Linked DNA regions of Homo sapiens: regions 1, 2 and 4 are each linked to region 3. Evidence: promoter capture Hi-C in human tissues and cell types (Jung and others, 2019). All regions are on one chromosome and are shown on one strand. The core of a region is centred on a gene start or on the middle of the fragment in contact, and the rest is flanking DNA. Distances in the headings are between cores, read along the strand shown. Region 1 overlaps GPR137C (G protein-coupled receptor 137C). Region 2 overlaps TXNDC16 (thioredoxin domain containing 16). Region 3 holds the start of PSMC6 (proteasome 26S subunit, ATPase 6). Region 4 overlaps FERMT2 (FERM domain containing kindlin 2).

Region 1 (2,700 bases), core at 44-2,543, 130 kb before region 3:
AGAAGTCAAATCCCCGAGTAGACCAATAACAACTTCTGAAATTGAGGCAATAATTAATAGTCTACCAACCAAGAAAAGCCCAGGACCAGACGGATTCACAGCCAAACTTTACCAGAGGTACAAAGAGGAGCTGGTACCATTCCTTCTGAAACTATTCCAATCAATAGAAAAAGAGGGATTCCTCCCTAACTCATTTTATGAGGCCAGCATCATCCTGATACCAAAACCTGGCAGAGACACAACAAAAAAGGAAAATTTCAGACCAATATCCCTGATGAACATCAATGTGAAAATCCTCAATAAAATACTGGCAAACCAAATCCAGCAGCACATCAAAAAGCTTATCCACCACAATCAACTGGGCTTCATCCCTGGAATGCAAGGCTGGTTCAACATATGCAAATCAATAAACATAATTCATCACATAAACAGAACCAATGACCAAAACCACATAATTATCTCAATAGATGCAGAAAAGGTCTTTGATAAAATTCAACACCCCTTCAAGCTAAAGATTCTCAATAAACTAGGTATTGTTGGAATACTTCTCAAAACAGTAAGAGCTATTTATGACAAACCCACAGCCAATATCATACTGATTGGGCAAAAGCTGGAAGCACTTCCTTTGAAACTGGCACAAGACAAGGATGTCCTTTCTCTCCCCTCCTATTCAACATAGTATTGGAAGTTCTGGCCAGGACAATCAGCCAAGATAGAAAAATAAAGGACATTCAAATAGGAAGAGAGGAAGCCAAATTGTATATGTTTGCAGATGACATGATTGTATACTTAGAAAACCCCATTGTCTCAGCCCAAAATCTCCTTAAGCTGACAAGCAACTTCAGCAAAGTCTCAGGATACAAAATCAATGTGCAAAAATCACAAGCATTCCTATACACCAATAATAGAGAACTCCCATGTATAATTGCTACAAAGAGAATAAAATACCTAGGAATACAACCTACAAGGGATGTGAAGGACCTCTTCAAGGAGAACTACAAACCACTGCTCAAGGAAATAAGAGAGGATGCAAACAAATGGAAAAACATTGCATGCTCATGGATAGAAGAATCAATGTCGTGAAAATGGCCATACTGCCCAAAGCAATATCTAGATTAAGTGCTATCCCCATCAAGCTACCATTGACTTTCTTCACAGAATTAGAACAAACTATTTTAAATTTCATATGGAACCAAAAAAGAGCCCATATAGCCAAGACAATCCTAAGCAAAAAGAACACAGCTGGAGGCATCATGCTACCTGACTTCAAACTATACTACAAGGCTACAGTAACCAAAACAGCATGGTACTTATACCAAAACAGATATATAGACCAATGGAACAGAACAGAGACATCAGAAATAACGACACATGTCTACAACCATCTGATCTTTGACAAACCTGATGAAAGCAAGCAATGGGGAAAGGATTCCCTATTTAATAAATGGTGTTGGGAAAACTGGCTAGCCATATGCAGAACACTGAAACTGGACCCCTTCCTTACACCTTATACAAAAATTAACTCACGATGGATTGAAGACTTAAACGTAAGACCTAAAACCATAAAAACCCAAGAAGAAAACCTAGGCAATACCATTCAGGACATAGGGATGGGCAAAGACTTTATGACCAAAACACCAAAAGCAATGGCAACAAAAGCCAAAGTTGACAAATGGGATCTAATTAAACTAAAGAACTTCTGCACAGCAAAAGGAACTATCATCAGAGTGAACAGGCAACCTACAGAATCGGAGGAAATTGTTGCAATCTATCCATCTGACAAAGGGCTAATATCCAGAATTTACAAGGAACTTATACAAATTTATAAGAAAAAAGCAACCCCATCAAAACATGGGCAAAGGATATGAACAGACACTTCTCAAAAGAAGACATTTATGTGGCCACAAACATATGAAAAAAAGCTCATCATCACTGGTCATTAGAGAAATGCAAATCAAAACCACAATGAGATACCATCTCATGCCAGTTAGAATGGCAATCATTAAAAAGTCAGGAAACAACAGATGCTGGAGAGCATGTGGAGAAATAGGAACACTTTTACACTGTTGGTGGGAGTGTAAATTAGTTCAACCATTGTGGAAGACAGTGTGGCGATTCCTCAAGGATCTAGACCAGTAATACCATTTGACCTAGCAATCCCATTACTAGATATATACCCAAAGGATTATTAGTCATTCTACTATAAAGACACATGCACACATATGTTTATTGTGGCACTGTTCACATTAGCAAAGACTTGGAACCAACCCAAATGCCCATCAATGATAGACTGGATAAAGAAAATGTGGCACATATACACCATGAAATACTATGCAGCCATAAAAAAGGATGAGTTCATGTCCTTTGCAGGGACATGGATGAAGCTGGAAACCATCATTCTCAGCAGACTAACACAGGAATGAAAACCAAACACTGCACATTCTCATAGGTGGGAGTTGAACAATGAGAACACATGGATACAGGGCGGGGAACATCACACACCGGGGCCTGTCGGTAGGTGGGGAGCTAGCAGAGGGGTAGCATTAGGAGAGATACCTAATGTAGATGACAGGTTGATGGGTGCAGCAAACCACCATGGCACATGTATACTTATGTAACAAACTTGCACGTTCTGCACGTGTATCCCAGAACTGAAAGTATAATTTACAAAAAAATCCAGATTAAAGCAAGCGACATTTC
Region 2 (2,700 bases), core at 148-2,647, 250 kb before region 3:
TACCCATGTAACCAAATCCCACTTGTTCCCCAATAACCTATTGAAATTTAAAAAAAAAAAAAACATGAATACTAATCCTACTCAAACTATCCTGGAAAATAGAGGAGAAAGGAGTAATTCCAAACTCATTCTACAAAGCCAGTATTACCCTGGTATAAAAACCAGACAAAGGCATATCAAGAAAACAACAGGCCAATATCATTGATGAATATCAATTGATGCAAAAATCCTCAACAAAATATTAGCAAACCAATTCAACAATACATTAAAAAGATCATTGATCATGTCCATGTATGATTTACCCCAAGGATGCGAGGATGGTTCAACATACACAAATCAATCAATGTGATACATTATATCAACACAATAAAGGACAAAAACCATATGATCATTTCAACTGATGCTGAATAGCATTTGATAAAACTCAACATCCCTTCATTAAAAAAACCCTCAAAAAACTGGGTACAGAAGGAATATACCTCAACATAACAAAGCCATATATGCCATAGCCACAGCTAGTGTCATTCTGAATGGGGAAAAAGTCTTTTCTCTAAGATCTGGAACGTGACAAGGATACCCACTGTCATGACTATTATTCAACATAGTACTGGAAGTCCTAGCTAGGGCAATCAAACAAGACAAAGAAATAATAGGCATCCAAATTGGAAGGGAAGAAGTCAACTTATCTTTGTTTGCAGATGATATAATCCTATATTTGGAAAAACTAAAGACTCCATCGAAAAACTATTCAAGCTGATAAACAAATTCAGTAAAGTTGCAAGACAAATCAAAATACAAAAATCAGCAGCATTTTTATATGCCAACAGTGAACAATCTGAAAAAGAAATCAAGAAAGTAATCCTATTTACAATAGCCACAAGTAAAATTAAATACCCAGGAATTAACTAAAGAAGTGAAAGATCTCTACGATGAAAACTATAATACATTGATGTAAGAAACTGAACTGAACACACAAAAATAGAAAGATGTCCCATGTTGATGGACTGGAAGAATCACTGTTGTTAAAATGTTCTTAATACCCAAAATAACTACAGATTTAATGCAAGCCCTATCAAAATACCAATGATATTCTTCACAGAAATAGAAAAAATAATTCTAACATTTATATGGATTCACAAAAGACCCAGAATAGCCAAAGCTATTCCTAAGCAAAAAAAGAACAAAACTGGAGGAATCACATTACCTGACATCAAATTATACTATAGAGCTATAGTAACCAAAGTGACATGGTACTGGCATAAAAACAGGCACATAGACCAATGGAACAGAATACAGAATGCAGAAATAAATCTGTACATCTACAGTGAATTCGTTTTCGACAAAGGTTCCAAGAACATACATTGGGGAAAGAATAATTTCTTCAATAAATGGTGCTGGGAAAATTGGATATCCATAGGCAGAATGAAACTAGGCCCCTATCTCTCATCATATACAAAAATCAATTCAAAATGGATTCCAGACGTAAATCTAAGACCTTAAACTATGAAACTACTACAAGAAAACACTGGGGAAACTCTACAGGACACTAGACTGGGCAAAGACTTCTTGAGCAATATTATCCCACAGGCACAGGCAACCACAGCAAAAATGACAAATGGGATCACATCAAGACAAAATGGTCCTGCACAGCAAAGGACACAATCAACAAAGTGGAGAGAGAGCCCACAGAATGGGAGAAAATATCTGCAAACTACCCATCTGACAAGGGATTAATAACCAGAATATATAAAGAACTGATACAACTCTGTATCAGTAGGAAAAAATCTGATTTAAAAAATGGGCAAAAGATCTGAATAGACATTTCTCAAAAAAATACATACAAACAGCAAACAGGTACATGAAAAGGTGCTCAACATCATTGATCATCAGAGAAATGCAAATCAAAACTACAATTAGGTATTATTCCATTCCAGTTAAAATGGCTTTTATCCAAAAGGCAATAACAAATGCTGGTGAGGATGTGGAGAAAAGGGACCCCTCGTATACTCTCAGTGGGAATGTAAATTAGTGCAACCACTATGGAGAACAGTTTGGAGGCTCCTCAAAAAACTAAAAATAGACATATCTTACCATTCAGCAATGTGACTCCTGAGTACATTCCCAAAAGAATATCAGTATACCAAAGAGATATCTGCACTCGCAGATTTATTGTAGCACTATTCATAACAGCCAAGATTTGGAAGCAACCTCAGGGTCCATCAACAGATGAATGAATAAAGAAAATATGGTACATACACACAATGAAATACTATTCCGTCATAAAAAAAAGAATGAGATTCTGTCATTTTTAACAACATGAATGGAACTGGAGGTCATGATGTTAAATTAGATAAGCCAGGCACAGAAAGACAAAAAGCACATGTTCTCACTTATCTGTGGGAGCTAAAACTTAAAACAATTGAACTCATGGAGATAGAGAAAAGGATGGTTACCAGAAGCTGGGAAGGGTAGTGGAAGAGGACTATTGAAAAAACTGGATATCCATATGCTGAATGAAACTAGACTGCTATCTTTCACCATATACAAAACCCAGTACAGCCTCTGGTTGTACTAATTTACATTCCCACCAAGAGTGTACAAGAGGTCTCTTTTCTCCACATCCTCACCAGCATTTGCTACTGCCTATCTTTTGGATAAAAAAAGCCTTTTTAACTGGAAATGGTGGGGAGGGGGGAAGTA
Region 3 (2,700 bases), core at 33-2,532:
CAGCTTCTCAGGAGGGTGAGGCACGACAATCGCTTGAACCCGGGAGGCAGAGGTTGCAGTGAGCCAAGATCGCACCACTACACTGCAGCCTGGGTGACAGAGTGAGACACAGACTCAAAAAAAAAAAAAAAAAAAAAAAAATCTGGCCGGGCGCAGTGCCTCACACCTGTAATCCTAGCACTTTGGGAGGCTGAGGAGGGTGGATCACCTGAAGTCAGCAGTTCGAGACCAGCATGGCCAACATGGCGAAACCCCGTCTCTACTAAAAATACAAAAATTAGCCGGTTGTGGTGGCGCACACCTGTAATGCCAGCTACTCCGGAGGCTGAGGAAGGAGAATTGCTTGAACCCGGGAGGTGGAGGTTGCAGTGAGCTGAGATCGCGTCACCGCTCCAGCCTGTGCGGCAGGAGCAAGACTCCATCTCAAAAGTAAATAAATAAATACATAAATCTGAAGGTTCTATCAGACTTCAAAGTTCCTGCCTCAGCCTACTTCAGCATCTTTATCTTGTACCCCACATCTCTACAACCCACCCCCTACTGGTCTCATTGGCCTCCTTTCTGTTCCTGGAAGTGAGTCAAGCTTTCTACCCACAACCCCCACCCCACTCCACTCCAGGACTTGCACTGTTTGTTTAGGTTTTCTTCAGTTGTTGCAAGGCTGGCTCCTTCTCATCTCAGATATCTGTTCTAGATTAATTCTTCCCACCATACTTCTCACCGTGTTTTAATTCCTTCACAGTATTTGTTAAACTCTGAAGTTTTTTTTATTATTATTTCCTATCAAATGATAAGCAGATCTACCTTTAATACCTCATTCACTGACTGAATGGATGAATAAAACTGTCTACTTCTCCAGCACGTGGAGGTCTTGGACAGTACTGTGTTATAACAAAGGCCATCTGTGTTGTGTCGACAGGCCATCGGAACTCCTTTGAGGTATTACACATTTCCTACTTCACTTCCATCTCAGTTTATTACAGAGCCTTTTATACTTCCGGGACAGCAGTGACTTAATACTGAGGCCTCTCAGGGGAAGACCGGGATAACTGAGTCCTGCTTTACCTATCTCGGCTTGCAAGAAACGGTATAGGTGGAGGCCTCTTTCAGTGTATGCCGGCGCTCTAGGTGAACCGAGACATAGAGGTGGAAGTGGAGTAGAAAGACGGGGCCAACCGGAAGGGGAGGGCTCATGGGCGAACCCACCCCTCCAGGCAGGGTTTCGCCCCTCGCCCCGCCCCTTCCCCCGCCCGGACGGCCATGGCCATTCCCGGCATCCCCTATGAGAGACGGCTTCTCATCATGGCGGACCCTAGAGATAAGGCGCTTCAGGACTACCGCAAGAAGTTGCTTGAACACAAGGAGATCGACGGCCGTCTTAAGGAGTGTGAGTGCACCTTTCTTTCCATTTAATCAAGTGCCTCGACTCGCTTCTGCCTCTGACAAAGCAGAAGCCTTTCGCCGAGCCCGGCAACCGAGCCTTAGAGATGACCAGGCCTAGGGCCAGGGACAAGGCGCTTTGTCATCCGGCCCTGAGCTTGTGGAGCAGCACTCCTTCGGGTGTAGAAATGGCCCAGTCCAGCCCGGGTGACAGAACATCGGCGGCCTTGAGGTGAAAATGAAAAAGAAGTAGAGGAGGAGTGGGGAAGTGGGCCGAGGATGTTTCCCAGGTTAGGGTGCAAGAAGGGCAGTCTTGGTGGAGTCCCGGGACTTGGAGAGGGGAAGGCGCTTGAGTCAAGTAAGCTCAAACAAGAGATGAGACTCAGGGAGTCGGCTTGTTCTTGGAGTCGAAAGACGGCCGCGGAGCTTAAGAGAGAAGTGTTCCAGTTGTCATAATAACCCATATCGTCTTGTGTTTCGTGTTGTACTGTATCAGGCATACAAATTTCCCTTACCTCCTGAGTGCTTAACTTTTTTTTCCAGTGCATTTTCATTGAAAAGCATGAGTAGTTTAATTAAATGGAGGACCATAATTACATGATTCTGTGGAGAACTGCATTTGTTGACTTTATTTAGGGTAGAATGTCAGAGAACAATCCACGTGGGTAGGTGAAGAGGTGAGGAAGGGTCTAAGTGATTATCATTCGGATTTGTAGTCGCAAATCCTAAGTGTCAGGGTGTCAATATCTTCTAAGACTATAACTTAAGATGTGCTTAAACAAGTATTGCCGATCAACAAAGTAAAAGTATGGTGCTTTCTCTGTAACATTTTGTTGTTATACATGCCACCTACTCATTACAAACAGCATTATTTCTTTTATGGTTTGAAACAGTGGATGTGAAACTTAGGTAAAGTGAAGTAGACTTACGTAAACAGTAAAGTGAGACGTAGCGACTTAAACACACTAAGATTACTGTTCAATTAAAAATGTTCAAATTGTATTATTTCAGTAAGGGAACAATTAAAAGAACTTACCAAGCAGTATGAAAAGTCTGAAAATGATCTGAAGGCCCTACAGAGTGTTGGGCAGGTAGGTGATGGAGTTTGGGGAATAGGGGGTGATGGTAATTTGCTTTTTTATTTAGCTGTTGCCAAAAAGTAATGCTTTTTATTTTCTTCCTTAGATCGTGGGTGAAGTGCTTAAACAGTTAACTGAAGAAAAATGTGAGTGATGAATTAGCTTATTAATTAGTAAAGAAACAGTCCACCTCTCTCTCACTTTTGAAATGCTTATTATTTTAATGACAATAATGCAGAGA
Region 4 (2,700 bases), core at 114-2,613, 210 kb after region 3:
AACATGGAGGAAACTTAAATGCCTATTACGAGGTGAAAGAAACCAATATGAAAAGGCTACATACTGTATGAGTCCAAACATATGATATTCTGGAAAGGGCAAAACTAGGTAAAAGGATGAGTGGTGGTGATGAGGAGAGAGGGATGAATAGGCAGAGCACAGAAGATTTTTAGGACAGTCAAACTATTCTGTACAATACCACAACAGTAGATACACGAGTATATATTTTTCCAAGCCCACAGCATGTACAACACCAGAAGTGAACCCTAACATAAACTACTGTCACTGAGTGATAATGGTATGTCAAGGTAGGTTCACCAGTTACAATAAATGTACCATTCTGGTACAGACTTTGAGAGTAGGGAAGGTTGTGCATGTGTGAGGACAGAGGGTATGTGGGAATTCTCTGTACTTTTGCTCAACTTTGCTGTGAACCTACAACTCCTGTAAAAACTACAGTTTATTAATTTCTCAAAAATGGACAAATGATATAAACAATTAAAAAAAGGAACTTAGATGTCCAATAATGATTTAAAAACATATTTAGCTTTGTAAACTAAAACAAAATACTGTCTTTTTCTCTTGGAAACAAAAACAACAAAACAGACCATAATCAAGTGTTAGTGAGGATTTGTGGCAACGGGTTTTCATACATTGCTAGTTGGAATATAAACTGGTATAACCAACTGGGAGACAATTTGACAGTACTCTGAAATGAATTATGTATATATTTAAAACAGCAATTTTACTTCTACTTCTAGGTGGATACTCGAGAGAAATTCTTGCACACACGTACAAAACTTAGTAAGAAAATACCTACGTGGTAATGGCAATAACATATACAGTTTATGGATATATACACACAGAGATACGTGTGTGTGTGTGTGTGTGTGTGTATGTGTGTGTCTGTGTATTTTACAGTACTGGATACACACTGAACTTATGATAGTAGTTGCTTTGTAAAGGGAAGTTAGGATAATGAGACTCAAGAATTTTACCAGTATTACTTTGACTTCAAGTCATATTTGTCATTTGACAAAATGACAAAATATCAACAATTATTAATTCCAGATAATGGGAATTTGGTATTCTTTGTATTTTTCTCTATTTTAATAATAATAATAAAAACCCTGTTTCACTTTAAAAAAAATTTCAAGGGCATTAGATCAAAAAGGCAATGTGAATCTACCTGTATCTCCCCTCCTACATCCCGAATCCCCTGAAATGACAGCAAAAGATATTTAAAAATTGTAGGCGGGGAGGGAAGATGAACATCCATAACAGTGCTAGGAGACAGGAAACTACAGTAAGAGGGTAAATAATGAGTGATTCTTGAAGACAGAAAAAAGTTGGTATTGGTTTAAGGGAAGCCACAGCCCAAACTAAACACAAGAAATGGGTGAGGATTCAGACTCCTCCAAGCTCCAAGCCTACAGGCATAAGCAGCAGGCAGGGCTCTGGGTTAAGAGGTAGGTAGTCTCAGCACCTCCATACTGTCCACAGGTCAGTGCTTGAGGCATTGTACAGGAGCAGCATTTGCCCACAGGCTCTAGCAGTGAGTGTGGGTGCTGACACCAGCAAGGAAGATTGGGTACTCTGGCGCTAGCCCAACTAAAATATTTTCAAATGTTTTCAGCAATATTTAAAACATTTGAAAATGTTGCAGCATTTGCTCTAAGAGTGAAGCAACCTAACTGATCATTAACAGGGAAATGTGGTTATAAATTATACTTGATCTTAGCCAAAAAGGCCAAGAAGTAATTGGATGTAAATTAATAGTACGTCTATACTCTGAATTACAGCTTAAAAGAATGTATAACACATAGAAAGATCTCTAAGACATTACTAAGTTTAAAAAATACATATAAAATGCTCCTATTTATTAAAAAAAATCCGATATGTATGGACAAATAAATGCATAGAAAATCACCAAACTGTCAAGAATGATTACTTAGGGGAAGGGGGAGCTTACTATGTATGTCTATATTCATTGATTCTTTTACAACAGAGTGTATTTATAAATTACTAGTATAATTTAAAAATTTAACATGAATAAAAAACTGCAGTACTTTATTTGGAATTAAAATATGAGAAGTCACTAAATGTATCTTTAACCAAGAATTTCTCAAATAGGAAAAAATACAGCAGAGTTCTGCACTAGTGGTAGTGACAGCAGTTCACATTTTCTCAGATGGTTGAATACTTCCTGTCATATGACATAACTGGGTCAGCCAAAGTAACCCACATCTCATTTCAGAATGCATAAATAGAAATACTACAGAGATGTTCAAATTGTAGACTGGTGAAGGAAGACAACACTCATAGTCATTTCCTTAGGAGCTGTGTCAGGCCTTCAATGGAGGAAGTGACACAATCTGCCTGAATCACTAAAATCAAATAGTGACTTATGTGAAGGAAACATTGCAAAGCCATGTATGTTCCCCTGAAAATAGTGCCTGTTCCTTTAACCTCTCCATAAAAATAAAGTATTAAATATCAGATACAATTCTAGTAAGGAAAGAATCTCTACTAGGTTCTTCCTGTTCCACCTTAACCCAGCATTTATCTTAATATAAAAACTTTAATGAAGTAGAAATTTCACACACATACATATATACAGATAGTTCAGCCCATGCCCCATCCCTTGGGATAAGCTATGTCAGTCATCGGTCATCTGTACATCACATAACTCGTATTTTA

The links. Contacts are between HindIII fragments. The study calls those that stand out against the background at their distance.
Region 1: a fragment that was not itself captured here is called in contact with the fragment with the promoter of PSMC6 in region 3 in 1 of the 25 tissues and cell types used here (small bowel).
Region 2: a contact is called between a fragment that was not itself captured here and the fragment with the promoter of PSMC6 in region 3, in 1 of the 25 tissues and cell types used here (mesenchymal stem cells).
Region 4: a contact is called between a fragment that was not itself captured here and the fragment with the promoter of PSMC6 in region 3, in 1 of the 25 tissues and cell types used here (mesendoderm cells).

What each region holds. Positions count from the first base shown.
Region 1 is chr14:52,572,049-52,574,748 of GRCh38, forward strand. The region is part of intron 1 of GPR137C (G protein-coupled receptor 137C); the gene reads left to right. Among named protein-coding and RNA genes, the nearest start is that of GPR137C, 21 kb to the left of the region's middle. The HindIII fragment of the contact is 7,349 bases long and covers 1-2,700 here.
Region 2 is chr14:52,451,215-52,453,914 of GRCh38, forward strand. All of the region lies in intron 18 of TXNDC16 (thioredoxin domain containing 16), which reads right to left. Among named protein-coding and RNA genes, the nearest start is that of TXNDC16, 100 kb to the right of the region's middle. The HindIII fragment of the contact is 7,351 bases long and covers 1-2,700 here.
Region 3 is chr14:52,705,918-52,708,617 of GRCh38, forward strand. PSMC6 (proteasome 26S subunit, ATPase 6) reads left to right here and starts at 1,283. Exons shown (of 14, transcript NM_002806.5): 1 at 1,283-1,387; 2 at 2,392-2,471; 3 at 2,566-2,605. The coding sequence starts at 1,303. RefSeq lists enhancers at 834-943, 964-1,023, 1,324-1,573, 1,594-1,643. The HindIII fragment of the contact is 7,628 bases long and covers 1-2,700 here.
Region 4 is chr14:52,916,400-52,919,099 of GRCh38, forward strand. All of the region lies in intron 3 of FERMT2 (FERM domain containing kindlin 2), which reads right to left. All of the region lies in intron 2 of LOC105370500 (a long non-coding RNA gene), which reads left to right. Among named protein-coding and RNA genes, the nearest start is that of FERMT2, 33 kb to the right of the region's middle. RefSeq lists an enhancer at 2,220-2,329. The HindIII fragment of the contact is 5,591 bases long and covers 1-2,700 here.